Regions from separate parts of the Homo sapiens genome. Here regions 2 and 3 are each linked to region 1. The links are contacts of gene promoters, found by promoter capture Hi-C in human tissues and cell types (Jung and others, 2019). All regions are on one chromosome and are shown on one strand. Each heading gives the region's core, a stretch centred on a gene start or on the middle of the fragment in contact. The rest is flanking DNA. Distances are from core to core; before and after follow the strand shown. Region 1 holds the start of GAPT (GRB2 binding adaptor protein, transmembrane). Region 2 overlaps RMEL3 (enriched in melanoma 3). Region 3 overlaps PDE4D (phosphodiesterase 4D).

The links. Contacts are between HindIII fragments. The study calls those that stand out against the background at their distance.
Region 2: a fragment that was not itself captured here is called in contact with the fragment with the promoter of GAPT in region 1 in 2 of the 25 tissues and cell types used here (adrenal gland and dorsolateral prefrontal cortex).
Region 3: a fragment that was not itself captured here is called in contact with the fragment with the promoter of GAPT in region 1 in 1 of the 25 tissues and cell types used here (mesendoderm cells).

What each region holds. Positions count from the first base shown.
Region 1 is chr5:58,489,067-58,493,128 of GRCh38, forward strand. It overlaps GAPT (GRB2 binding adaptor protein, transmembrane), which reads left to right and starts at 2,369. Exons shown (of 3, transcript NM_001304431.2): 1 at 2,369-2,475. The HindIII fragment of the contact is 14,545 bases long and covers 1-4,062 here.
Region 2 is chr5:57,500,313-57,504,374 of GRCh38, forward strand. The region is part of intron 3 of RMEL3 (enriched in melanoma 3); the gene reads left to right. Among named protein-coding and RNA genes, the nearest start is that of ACTBL2, 20 kb to the left of the region's middle. The HindIII fragment of the contact is 3,585 bases long and covers 210-3,794 here.
Region 3 is chr5:59,002,325-59,006,386 of GRCh38, forward strand. The region is part of intron 6 of PDE4D (phosphodiesterase 4D); the gene reads right to left. Among named protein-coding and RNA genes, the nearest start is that of PDE4D-AS1, 35 kb to the right of the region's middle. RefSeq lists an enhancer at 588-1,483. The HindIII fragment of the contact is 5,756 bases long and covers 1-4,062 here.

The DNA of each region.
Region 1 (4,062 bases), core at 1,119-3,618:
TAATGCTTTATGCTAAAATGTAAATTCCCATGATACCCTTAACAAGTAGCATGGGGTTTGGCGGCTCCTTCCAAAATAGCCAGAAAGATGCTTTTAGTCTGGCAAGCTTTCAAATAAAATTCACATACACAAACATTTGTTCATTTTTACCGTCACTAATGTTACTCAGTTCAAGTATCTGAAAAAGGGCATGGGTTAAAAGAAATGGATACTAACTGACACACAAGAAATTGCTGGGAACTTAAATCACAATTAAGTAAAGTGGTTGCTATCACCAATTAATAGGAGAGGAAGATTTACTTAGATGAAAGATCCAGTCCATATTACACTACAGAACAATAAACTACTTCCTAAGCCCTTTACTACCCAAACCGTATAACTGTAGAAGAAAAAGCAGGAAAAGAAAACCTAGACATAATTGCTGTGATTAAAAAGGAACTGAAAGGAGACAATAAATATGTATTTTGCGAGGCCAAAGATTGGGAAGTAGGAAAATATAGAATTCAAGACATAAAACATAATCCCTACAAATGACAATGATCCAATAATTCTATTTTGAATATATACAGCATTTCTTTTATAAACTTGAAGAATAATTATATCCATTACATCAAAAAAATTCTATTTGAGGAAAGTGCCAGTCATTTTCCCTCCATTTTATTTTCCGTTAGAAAAACTAAAGTAATAAGGGGTTAAGCAACTTTTTTAACTTCAAAGGGCAAAAGCTGAATGAGCACCAGTTGTCCTGCCTTCTAGAGAAAATCATAATTTTATACAAACATTGTATAAATTGCCTTTCTTACAGATGTATGCCTAGGCAGGTGAGTGTGTATATTATTTGGAGGGGTGGCTAATACTGAAGTTAAATATAGTGGTGAGAATGTGGAGCACATCAAGTTCATAGCTTCACAACTTCATAACCTCCTTCACTGTAAGATTTTTGTCCAGGACACCCCTATTCTGCCTTAACACCTTATTCTATGAGGCTTAGCTCAGGTCTTGCCTTCCCTGACCACCCTCTGAGCTGGATGCCTCTTTCCTTTACCTCCACTGTCCCTGTCCATAATCCTGTCTTTCTTAGGCATTATCACTTTGATCTGAAATGTTCTGTGGGCGCAGCAGCCTCTCTACTTGGCTTTAAGTGCTGCAGGGAGCTTATTCACTCTTGCATCCTCATCTCTTAGCACAATGCCTGGCATAATGTCAGTGCTCAGCAAGTGTTAATAATACGTCCTGTCCTTCCAATGTCCAGTAGTTATTTCAGTAACTAAATCCTCTTTTTTAAAACCACCTTATGCAAAGTTAATCCTCTGTGGTTCAAAAAGTTCCAAGACAACTTAAAAGACAAATTTTCCATTACTTTGTCATCTCATCTGTCGAATTCATCTGTAATTTGTCTAATTCAGCATCTCCCACTGTGTGTGTTCCCATGAGTTGGACTCCAAGAGATGCTCTTGGTAAGCGTATCTATGTGGGAAACATGTTACTCAATCTAGCAAGGCAGCCAGTGCAGTGGTTTAGCACACAGGTGCTGGGGGCAAACTGCAGGCTCTGTCGGGCAAGTGATCATTCTGTGTGCTTCTGTTTCCTCTTCTGTAAAATAGGACTAATAACAGTTTTTCTCCCTCACAGGGTTGTTGCCAAGATTTGCTGAGTATTACACAAAAGGTTTGGAGTACTTAGTGCTAGGAACATACTGACTACTATTATTAAGCAAAGTTAAACAATTTCTTTTTCTTATTTGGTTTTATTTTGTTTGCTGGCTGTAAGACTGCTGAGAGCCTTTAGCATGCTGATGTACCCATGAATCTCCAGGGAAGCAGTATTCCCCACATTTACTTGATGGAAGAGCTGCTAGCATATCTCAGGGGTAATGGGCCTCAAAACATACCTTAGGAAATTCCTATTTATAAATTTAAAAGAACGTTAACATTTTCCAAACCCAAATTGGGACACTGATTTGACCTGTATGGCTATAACTTGGGAGCATTGGTACATAATATTAATATTTGAAGAGAGGACTGGTCTAGCAACACAAGTAAATAATAATAATAATAATAAAAGCCCAAGACCTATGTGTTACTACAATTAAAATATTTCTTTTTTTAAAAAATCAAAGTACAAGTGAAGTGACTTTTATTGATATTAAAGTGGGAACTGCAAATATGGCCCAAATAAAAAACCATGTAGGCTTTACGTATTATTTTCTGACACAGTTAAAAAACTATTACTTGACAAAGATGAAGGGCCAGACTTCCTTATTCAAAACCTCACGCCATTTATCTTAATTCTGCTGCATCTGATACTGACTTCCTCTAGAGCCAGGAAACTTTGCAAGTATTAAATAGCGTGAACGAAGGAGGGAAAGAAGGAAGTAACCCACCAAAGTGAAAAAGAGGAACAAGTTCTAACCCAATGCAGGTTTAAAACATAACCAAAAGAACAAAAGAGAGAGCTTGACACACCAATCTTGAGGTAAGTAAGAACCTGATTTAAGGTATTTGGATGATTAAACACTATAAGAAACAAGTTTGTCTTTAATTAATCAATGATTTTTATCTTACTACAGTTTTTAGAAAAAAATGCCTTACGTAGCTGTAAGGGGGAAACCCAATTTACAAACTGAGAGTGATGTTAATGTTTCTTTACAATATGATTATGCTTTGCTGTTACCTTGTTTCCAAACAGCAGGGCATTCTCTTACTTGAAAATTCCTGAAGTTTCTCAACAATTTGCGATTTTAAGAAAAATGTCAAATTGTTAGGTAACCTGTTGGAACTGCTTTCCAAAATGAAAACAGAGTCTTCTTTCAAACTGGTCAAAGTGAACATTATTTAAGTGTTAAACTATATTTGAATGGTTATTGTTTAAAATATGTTTTTCATTATAGTAGGTCTTTGTTCATGTCTCACAGGTTTTTTCCTCTAATGTTATTTCGAAGAAAATGATGCATTTCTTTTTCTGTAAAAAGTCTTCTTGTCTTTATCTTGGTAAATATCTCTTAGACAAACAATTTTAATATTTTGGATGTACCAGAATTTCTACTCTACATAGAATAACATAGATGGTAAAAATGCCTTTTCTTCTTAAAAATTAAGAGAGTAATTTATTGCCTTATCCTCAGCTACAGAAGTGACAATAGTTAGCCTTCCTCAACCCTCACCGTGACTTCTGTTGCAGGCCTAGTATCTTTCAAAAAGTTGATTAATTTCAATCAATACTTAAAGTGTATTTTGTAAATTTATTTCAAATATTCTGGCAAATAACTTCTTAAATCATTAACCATGTATACCATAAAATATCTTGCAGATAATTGGTGCTCATCTGTTTCAGACAGGAAATGAGGTCCTAATGATTAAAGTCATTTGGCTAAACTTTTGTCCTTGAACACAAGCACGGCTGGCCTTATAAAGGAGGGACCCTGCAGATTGTAAATCTTATGTGGCGGACCATACAGTTCTCAACCTCAATATTACTCCCAAAAATTCCAAGGAGATTAAAATGTTTCTGCATCTGGGGTGCTTGTCCCTGTATTTTTATCAAAAAATTGTATAAATTAGCTGCACATCTTATTTAATTTTCTTTTATGAAATGTCAAATTAAATATTTGCATATTAATATATTCTAACCTTGGACAAATTTATGAACGTTCATTACCATTAAACTTTTCATGAAAACTCACTGAAAGCAGAGCACCACTTTGTGAATTTCTATTTTTCTTCTCATTGTTACTATTATTATCCCATAAGGAGATTACTTCATTCATTAACAAATGTCTAATAGATTAGTCATTCTGTGTCTAATGCTGGTGTTGGTAATACAAAGGTAAATAATATATGATTTCCAACCTTCGAGAACCTCAGAGCTAATCAAGCTATACAAATTTTCTGACTGATGCACTTAGTAGCATGTTACAGATATTTGGATAAATAATATTTTGGGGAAATTTTTACCTGAATTCTCATTCAGTCACATTTTGGTTGTAAGGAAGTTACTTAACTTCTTTAAGCCTCTCTTCTTATCTATAAAATGGTGATATGAATAGTACCCACTACATATAGC
Region 2 (4,062 bases), core at 752-3,251, 990 kb before region 1:
TGCCTGCCACCATGCCCAGCTAATTTTTGTATTTTTAGTAGAGACAGGGTTTCACCATGTTCACCAGGCTGATCTCGAACTCCTGACCTCAAGTGATCTGCTCACCTCGGCCTCTCTACTTATAATTTAAATATATTCTATTTTTTTATTTGTTTGCTTGGGGGATACTTTTTCTGGAGGAGAAAGAAATGAGGCTGAAAAGACAAAGATACATGTAAAGACGTTGCACATCTTACCTCCAAATGAGAAGATTGAGGTTTTCAAATTATAGCTTCCTATTAATAATAGCCACACATATATACTTTTGTTACTTTTTATTCCTTTTGATTTTAACTAGCCTGGCTGAATATGAATGATGGGAAGGAGAAAAGCAAAAGGGGGTTATACTTGAAAATTGTTTTAGTCTATGAAAAAGGCTCAAAGAATTATAGAAGGATTGTGGAGATCACTCGGTCCAACTTGTGAGCCTTAAATCTGGGGTGCAGTAGTTATGGTGTAAGCTGAGGAGGAGCCAGGGCAGTATCATCACAGGTGCTCAGCCCAATGGCCTCTCCTTGGTGAGGAAGGTGAAGCCAATTTGAAAGCAAAGAGAGAGATTCGGTTCTCTGCAAAAAACAAACAAAACCAAAGCCAGTCCCTCCTCCACCCAATCTTCCATTGTAAATTCTGAGAAGGGAGCACCAGGCCTGGAGGATGCTGTCAGAACAGGACTCCTGAGGAATTAGATGCACCCGAGATGGCGATGGGACCCAGGTGTAATAACCAACACTCCACCTTCTATTAAATAGGAACTTTCTTCTGATTTGTTCCAAACACTCCCCACACTCGGAGAGCATTCCAGTGAAGTGGGTGGAGAAGGAAACAGATGTGAGACCAGATGCAGATCTGAACAAATTTGTTAGGTGAGTTCACGGATCCTTCCTTCTTTGGGAAGTGTTAGAGAAAGGAGGGAATTTCTGGAAACCAACCAAGTCAGTCTTGGAGATATATCCAGAGAACTCCATCAGCTATGAAGGGACCATGTTCCCACCTTTAGAACAGATATGATCTACAAAATAGAGCAAATGCTTTTTCTGGCGAGGAAGGACAGAGGGCAGAAAATGAGGTCCAAATAGAGTGGTTTGAGTTGTCCTCATCTGAGCCTAAACAGTTATGATGGAATCTCAGGAGGAGCCACATGGTATGAAAGGGTTTAATATTGAGTGAGCCTGGAGGAGGGACAGTATTGAAAGCCCAGCTCAGATGTACAGGATGTGTCTGTTCTTTAAAGATACTGATGCATTTCTCTTGAATTTTTCTACACTGCTGGGTCAAGCTATGTCAAGAATCTCTGTCTCATTGGGAAATGAGATATTTTCTACAATCTGTTTTTTTCTCTCATGATTCCCGTCGAGTTAAAGGCTGACATCTCATCAAGCAGCTCAACAGCCCCAGAGAGAGAGAGCGAGAGATCCCTTAGAGAGCTGGGCCCCAGGGAGAGACACATCTGAGGAACTCTCCCTGCATTGACTTGGCTTTGTGGCCTCTGTCCGAGGTTTTCAGATCTTATCAAATAGTGTCTCATTTGCACTGCAGTGCATGTCACAAAGCCCTGTGGATGCAAAGGAGGTGACAGCAAAAAAGGTTAACAGCAAACTGGGGACAGTGCCAGGAATGGAACTTGATTCCTTAATTCTTGTTCCAGAACCCAAGCAGCCTGGCTTTGCCAGGGCCAGCCTGGGTCTGTTCATAGAGCTGTCATTTGGCTTTTGGTCGTTTATATACCATTTGCTAACTGTTCATAATTCCAGTGCAATTTTCCTCAGAACATGGGAAACAAAGACAGCGAAACAAGGGGCTTTTATGTTTTTCTGTGCTGTCGTCAGTGGATGAAGTTGGCTGGGCAAGAGTACAAGCTTTTTCTTGCTACACTTGATGGAGTTTCCTTTTTTAAATGAACATTTTTAGGGAGAAAATGTCAGTGTGCAGGGTAAATGCAGAATGCCCTGTTAAATATTTAAAACATAGCATTTGTCCATCGATTTTGGCAGGGTTAGAGTCAATAGATTAATCATTCAGTCAACAAATACTTGAATAGATGCAAATCATTCATTGCTGTCAGAGCTACTCCTAGCCCCCACTGAGTCTTTGTGCAAAATTGAAAAAGGGGGTCCTCTGGGCAGAAACAACTCTGCACCAGGCCACATGACTTCAAGAGTCCCTAGCTCTCAGTCATGTGCCTTTGTGCAGTGTACAAACTGTGCAACTGTACATGACTATACATTGAGAGAGAGAGTGGGCCATATATTATGCCATTAGAGTACAAAATTAGGTCTTGAGCAGAATTTCAAGAAAAAGTCCCCCTTTTTGGGGCATGGCAAACAGAAGGAAGTAAGTTGCTTATTCTAAGGGAAAAACTACAAAGGCTTGCTGGGGTTTTGCCCCTAAATTCTTTACCCCTACTGCTGGGATAATACAGCCTCCTCTGGGCTGTAGGAACAATCCTGGATGTAAGGAGAAGGATAAGAAGGACCTGAGGACTCAGTATTGAATGAATCTCATCTTTCAGCTTCACGGTGATATCTCATGTCCATCTAGGTACAGATCCATGGTTTTTTGGTTCCTGCCCTATCTTCAGAATTCTCTTAGTGGTGGAATTTGTGCCTGTTTTTTACCCGTCATTTTCCCCTCTCCTTAGGGTCCTACCTGAACCCTTGACTGGTGCCCTATGACCATTTGCTGTGTTCTCCTAATGCCACACACCTTTCTGACTCCCTGGAAGCCTTTATGCTTCCAGGAAACTACCACAAGGAATTCTGACAATGGCCTCACCTGTTAGGGTGACTGCCTGGATCAAGGGCTCATTTTAGACCTATAAATCCTATTCGTGTTTCCTATCTTTTACTCCATGGATCTATTTCCTGGTTTTGGACTAATCTTTAGAACCATAGTTCTCAAAAAAGAATGCTTATTAGAACTGCCTAGGGTGCTTTGTAAAACTTGGGTGCCCAGATACACTTCTGCCCACTGAAATTAGAATGTCTGGGGAGGCACAGGCACCTGTATCTTTAAGCCTCCATAAGTTATTTCTACAGGCAGGCAGGCATGGTTGAGAACACTGTTTAGAATCACATCCCCACGTTTGTCTACTCTTTTTTTGTTGTTTGTTTGTTTTCTTTATCTCTTCTTCATTTCTGAAGTTCGCTCTTTGATTAGTCAGCTTTTTTTATGTGTGTTTCTATGTTGAGAACTGTGGCCTTCACCTAGACTCATGAGTCTGATTGCACTAATTTTTCCCGGGCCAGCCTGGCTCACCACCAGACAAGCTTAAATTATGATTATGTTTTGGAGCCAGAAGGCTGAGAGGGCTATCTGGAGACCCAAAGTTAGCCTTTTGTGGTTTCTTTATCCTGTAATTCTAATAAATGCAATTCATCAACCTGTCTTGCACAGGAAAGAACATTCTTTGTAGGCAGACCTCAACTTATGAATAGATTATGTTCCAAAATTTGTTTGTGGTCAGTTGTTAGGGACGTAGAACTCCATTCCCAGAATAACAAAGTTACAAAGGAAAGTTTCAGGTCGCAATAGTCTACTGAGTCTTTGAAAAGCCGAACTTTAGAACGAATAGAGCCAAAGGCTCAAGTCTGTGATTAGGCTGAACCACATGAAATTGAGATTTTTGTATGTCAAAAATGGTTGAATATTGGCAATTTTCTGTAGGCTCAACCAATAATATGTTTTGGTTTAGGGAGGGGGAAAACATTTTAAGTGCTAGATTAGAGTGTTTCAGAACAGTTCATGCTTATCAAGATTCTAAGAGGACCCTAAAGGACTACCTCATTTTTAAAAAGTCCTTGCACCCCCTTCAGTCTCTCTCCTTCTAGCCAGGTAAAATGTAAGCAAAGACAGCACAGGCCTTCTGAGGGAGCAGACATACAAATGAGGAGGGCTTTAGCAGTTGTGGATTTCTATTGATTCTGCTGGTGAATGGGTTGGGGCAGAGGTGTCTAGGTGAGCAGGAGGGAGATGAGGTTCTTATGTTGGCAGCCTCCAGATAAGCAGATGTTTCTACAGAAACCT
Region 3 (4,062 bases), core at 817-3,316, 510 kb after region 1:
AAGATACTCTTAATGAGCCACACTGTCCTACACTGAATCTGAGTTGGCTTGTGTAACCAACAAGTGATGGTGCATGACTGCTGAGGCTAAGTCATAAGAAATCTTGCAGCTCTCATCCTGCTTTCTTTGAATGTGCTATTGGGACCCCTAAGCCATTAGGTTGAAAAAAAAAAAGGTCTGACTACTCTGAGAGGCTATGCTACAAGAAGTCCATGTTAACTTCACAGACAGTGAAGAGAGAAAGCGCAAGAGAGCACTTGCACAAGAAAGAGCACACATGCCTGGCCAGTCTTCAGCAATGCCAGCCACCCCAGCCCAGAGCCAGACCTGAGGGGCAAGAAGCCATCCTAGCCATCCAGCCAGTTCAGCTTTCAGATAGCTACCCACTGGGCTGCAACCATATGAGGAATGCCAAGCAAGAATGTCTAGCCAAGACCAGTTAACCCACAAAGCCATGAAAACTAATAAAAATACATTCATATTTCAAAGTATTAGGTTTGAAGTGATTTCTTACATAGCAATAAATAACCAGAACAGATACATATGAGGATTAAATGAGACCATATATGCAAAGCACTTAAAACAACAAATGGTACAAAGTTGAAGATAAGTAGGTATCAGACAGTAAAGATGACAGTGACAATGATCATTATGATAATCATTCTATTATACTAATATTTAAAAAAATTCTCTGGTTTGTCATTTGTTTTTAAAATATATATGTTATATTTCCTTTCAATTGCATCACAGCACTCCATGTCTCAGGGCCAAAATGCTGTAATTGCTTCTTAGCTCATCTTCTTGCCCCTGGCTTTTCCCCTTCTAGTCTCATATTGACCTCTACTGCCAGATCAATTTTCCTCAAATCCAGCCGCAGCCTGTTACTTCAAAGCTAGTAATGCCTGCTTCATCACATCCCTCTGTAAATTCCAGACTGCCATATCTGACCTTAATCCCCAACGCCAAGCCTATTTTCAGCTGCTCTATTACATTTGCTCTGTTCCTGAAAGACTAGTACTCCTCCACCTTCACCATACAGCTGACAATCCCATCTCTGTCTTACCAAATTCTCGGCCTAAAATACCCTCCTTCTTCTACTCTGCCAACCTCAAACTGGTTTTCTCAGTCAGATTTAAATCATTCAAAGTACATCTTAGGACCAAATATTCCAGCCTTTTTCCAAATTCTAACGATTCTACATCTGCCCCTTCATTCAATATTTATTAAGCTCCTACTCTATGTCAGGCACTGCCTGAGAAAGAGAAACAAAGCTTTCTCACCTGCAGCTTATATTCCAAAACTAAGTTAATAAATACATAATACGTCATGGGGTGATAAGCACAATGGAGAGAAAGAAGGGATAAGGATTACGGATAGAGGTTGCTATAAGGTGATCATGGAAAGCCCCTCTGATGAGATGACGTATACCAGGAGATCTGAAGAAAGGAAACAAGCCATGTGGATTGCGGGGTGAGAGGTAGGGTAGAGAAGGGAAAACCAAGTGAGGAATGGCAAAAGCAAAGGCCTCGAGGCAAAACATACTTGGTGAGGCTCCCTGAAGAACAGGTGGAAGTGTCATACCACTTGTCATTTAAATGCAAATTACACTCTGCAGTCAGGCTCACTGCCTTCCCCCTCCTTTAAAAAAAAAAAAATCCATCCATCCATCAATTTTATTCTTTGACAAACTTAAGACTCAGTTACTTTTTACTTTTTATAACAAGTATTCATCCTGAAATGAAATTCCTAAATACACTTCCTTCATAATACTGTACTGAATACATATAGGCTAAATACTCCCTACATAGATTTAAAAAAAAAATCAGTATAATGGCTTATCAGTGAAATAAAGGAGAAATGAGTAATTTCTATCAAATACTACAAAATATAAATACTTGTACACAACTACATTTTAAAAAGTAGTCAAAAACTACTATAACTGATTAGCTGTGTGACCTTGGGGAAGCTATTTAAATTTCCCATACTTCAGTTTACTCACATGGAAAATGAGAATAATAGTTTCTACCTTACAGGGTTGTTGTGAGGATTAAATTAGTGCATATACATAAGGCTCTTAGAACAGTAAGTGCTATCTAAGGGTTTGCTATGATTTCTCTTATGGGGAGAATTACCACAAAAGTAACAGTAGCATGAAAATGAATACAGGGGTGTTATGTTAGAAAAATTTTCCTTTTTCCTGATATGATGAATGATTCTTTGAAAGGTTTCAAATGTAACAAAGTGCCATCTTCACAATATACACTATTGCTGCATTACTAGAAAATTTGGTGTGGATTAAAACCATGTAAAAATATTTAATACTTATACGTAAAAAGTAGTTGGGTTCTAGGCTCAGAGAATTATAAATGCATTTTGTTTTTTCACCTATGTGAATAGCTGCTGGGACTTTTTGGAAGTTGTGTGGGACACACAGCAAACCTCCCTGGTGAAAGGCTGTCCCATGTATCCCAGGACATCTAGCCTCCCTGGCCTCTGCCCACCAAGCACCAGGAGTACTCCCCAGTCACTGTCCCCTGAAATTTCCTGAATGTTCCCCAGTGTTAAGAATCACTGTTCTATTTTTTTCAACTGTCTTCAACTTTGACTCCTCATCCAGGGTGGAGGATCTTTGAGGCCAGAAAAGTATCTTATTATGTCCCTGTATTTCTCAAGGTAGTGTACTATTGCCACAAAAAGATTGTTGGCTGATGCAGATGCAAAACATCAATATTTTTATACTGATTATAGGTGACAGGAAAGGACAAGGGTTTTCACCCTCAGCAAAATCATCAAAAACATTTAAAACAGATTACATATAGTAGATAATACTCCTTGTCTTAAAACATTATGCAGAAACACACATACAGTTTCCCTTCCCTCTAAAATCTGCAGCCTCTTCTCCCTGCTGAATGTGAGTGATGGTCCCTTCATTCAACAGACTTCTATTTGGCAACTATTATGTGCCAGGCATTCTAATAGGTGCTGGATGTGAAAGGATTTAACTTATTCAAATAAGTCCCTAATTTGCTGCAATAAGGGAGATTATTTAATCATATTGAGTAAAAAGTACCAAGGAAAGTTTCCATATTTCTAGGGAATAAGAAATCTTTTCAAAAATCTCTGAGCCAAATTAAAATTCATTTCATTTTCCCTAATCTCCATTTCTAGGAGACTAGAATCTCCTTCCTATTGCCACGGTAGCTGCTATCTGCAGAGAGAATCTAGATAATTTAGAAGAGAAATTTGAATAGAGCCAGAGAGATACAATTCTTATAGTCAGACTTGGCTTCACCAAATTTAATGAAGAAACTTTAATAAGTTACAACATTTACTAGGCACCTACTATGCACAAAGAACTTTACATACCTCATTTCTAATCTTGGCAACATTCTGATAAGATAAATATTATCCCTATTTTAACATGAAAAGATGGACCTTCTTACATATTCAATAACTTGCTCCATAGGTGACAGGATTGAAATGCAAACCCAGTCCTTGCTCTTAATGGTGTATGACAGCTCATCATATAATTAGGCTGATGCAAACTCTATGATAAACAGTATGAATCTAGGAGTGGATTTGTTTATCCTCAATCTTTTTGCTAACTTTACAGTGCCTTGAATTAAAGAATCATGGTTACTATCACCATGGTCAGATCTCTGGACAGGGTGAGGAAGCAGGTGCCCACAGGCAGACAGCCCTGCCATATAGTGAGACACGCTTATGTTTGGGAGCGCTATGTGAACAACACACAGCTGCCCTCATATGCAGATGTAATGATGACGACACATTCAGACAAGGAACTGAGGTCCAGAAAAGTTCTGACAACACAACTTGAGGGACAGCGTTACAGCTAGAGCTCAGGTTTCTTATCTGTAATCCACTGCTCTCAAATGCCCAAATGATTTTATATACATATATGCAAGTGTGTTTGTTGAAATAGAAAAAATAGTTTCTTGGCCTGGTGAAGTGCCTCATGCCTGTAATCCCAACATTTTGGGAGGCCAATGCGGGAGGATTGCTTGAGGCCAGGAGGTCGAGACCAGCCTGGGCAACATAGAG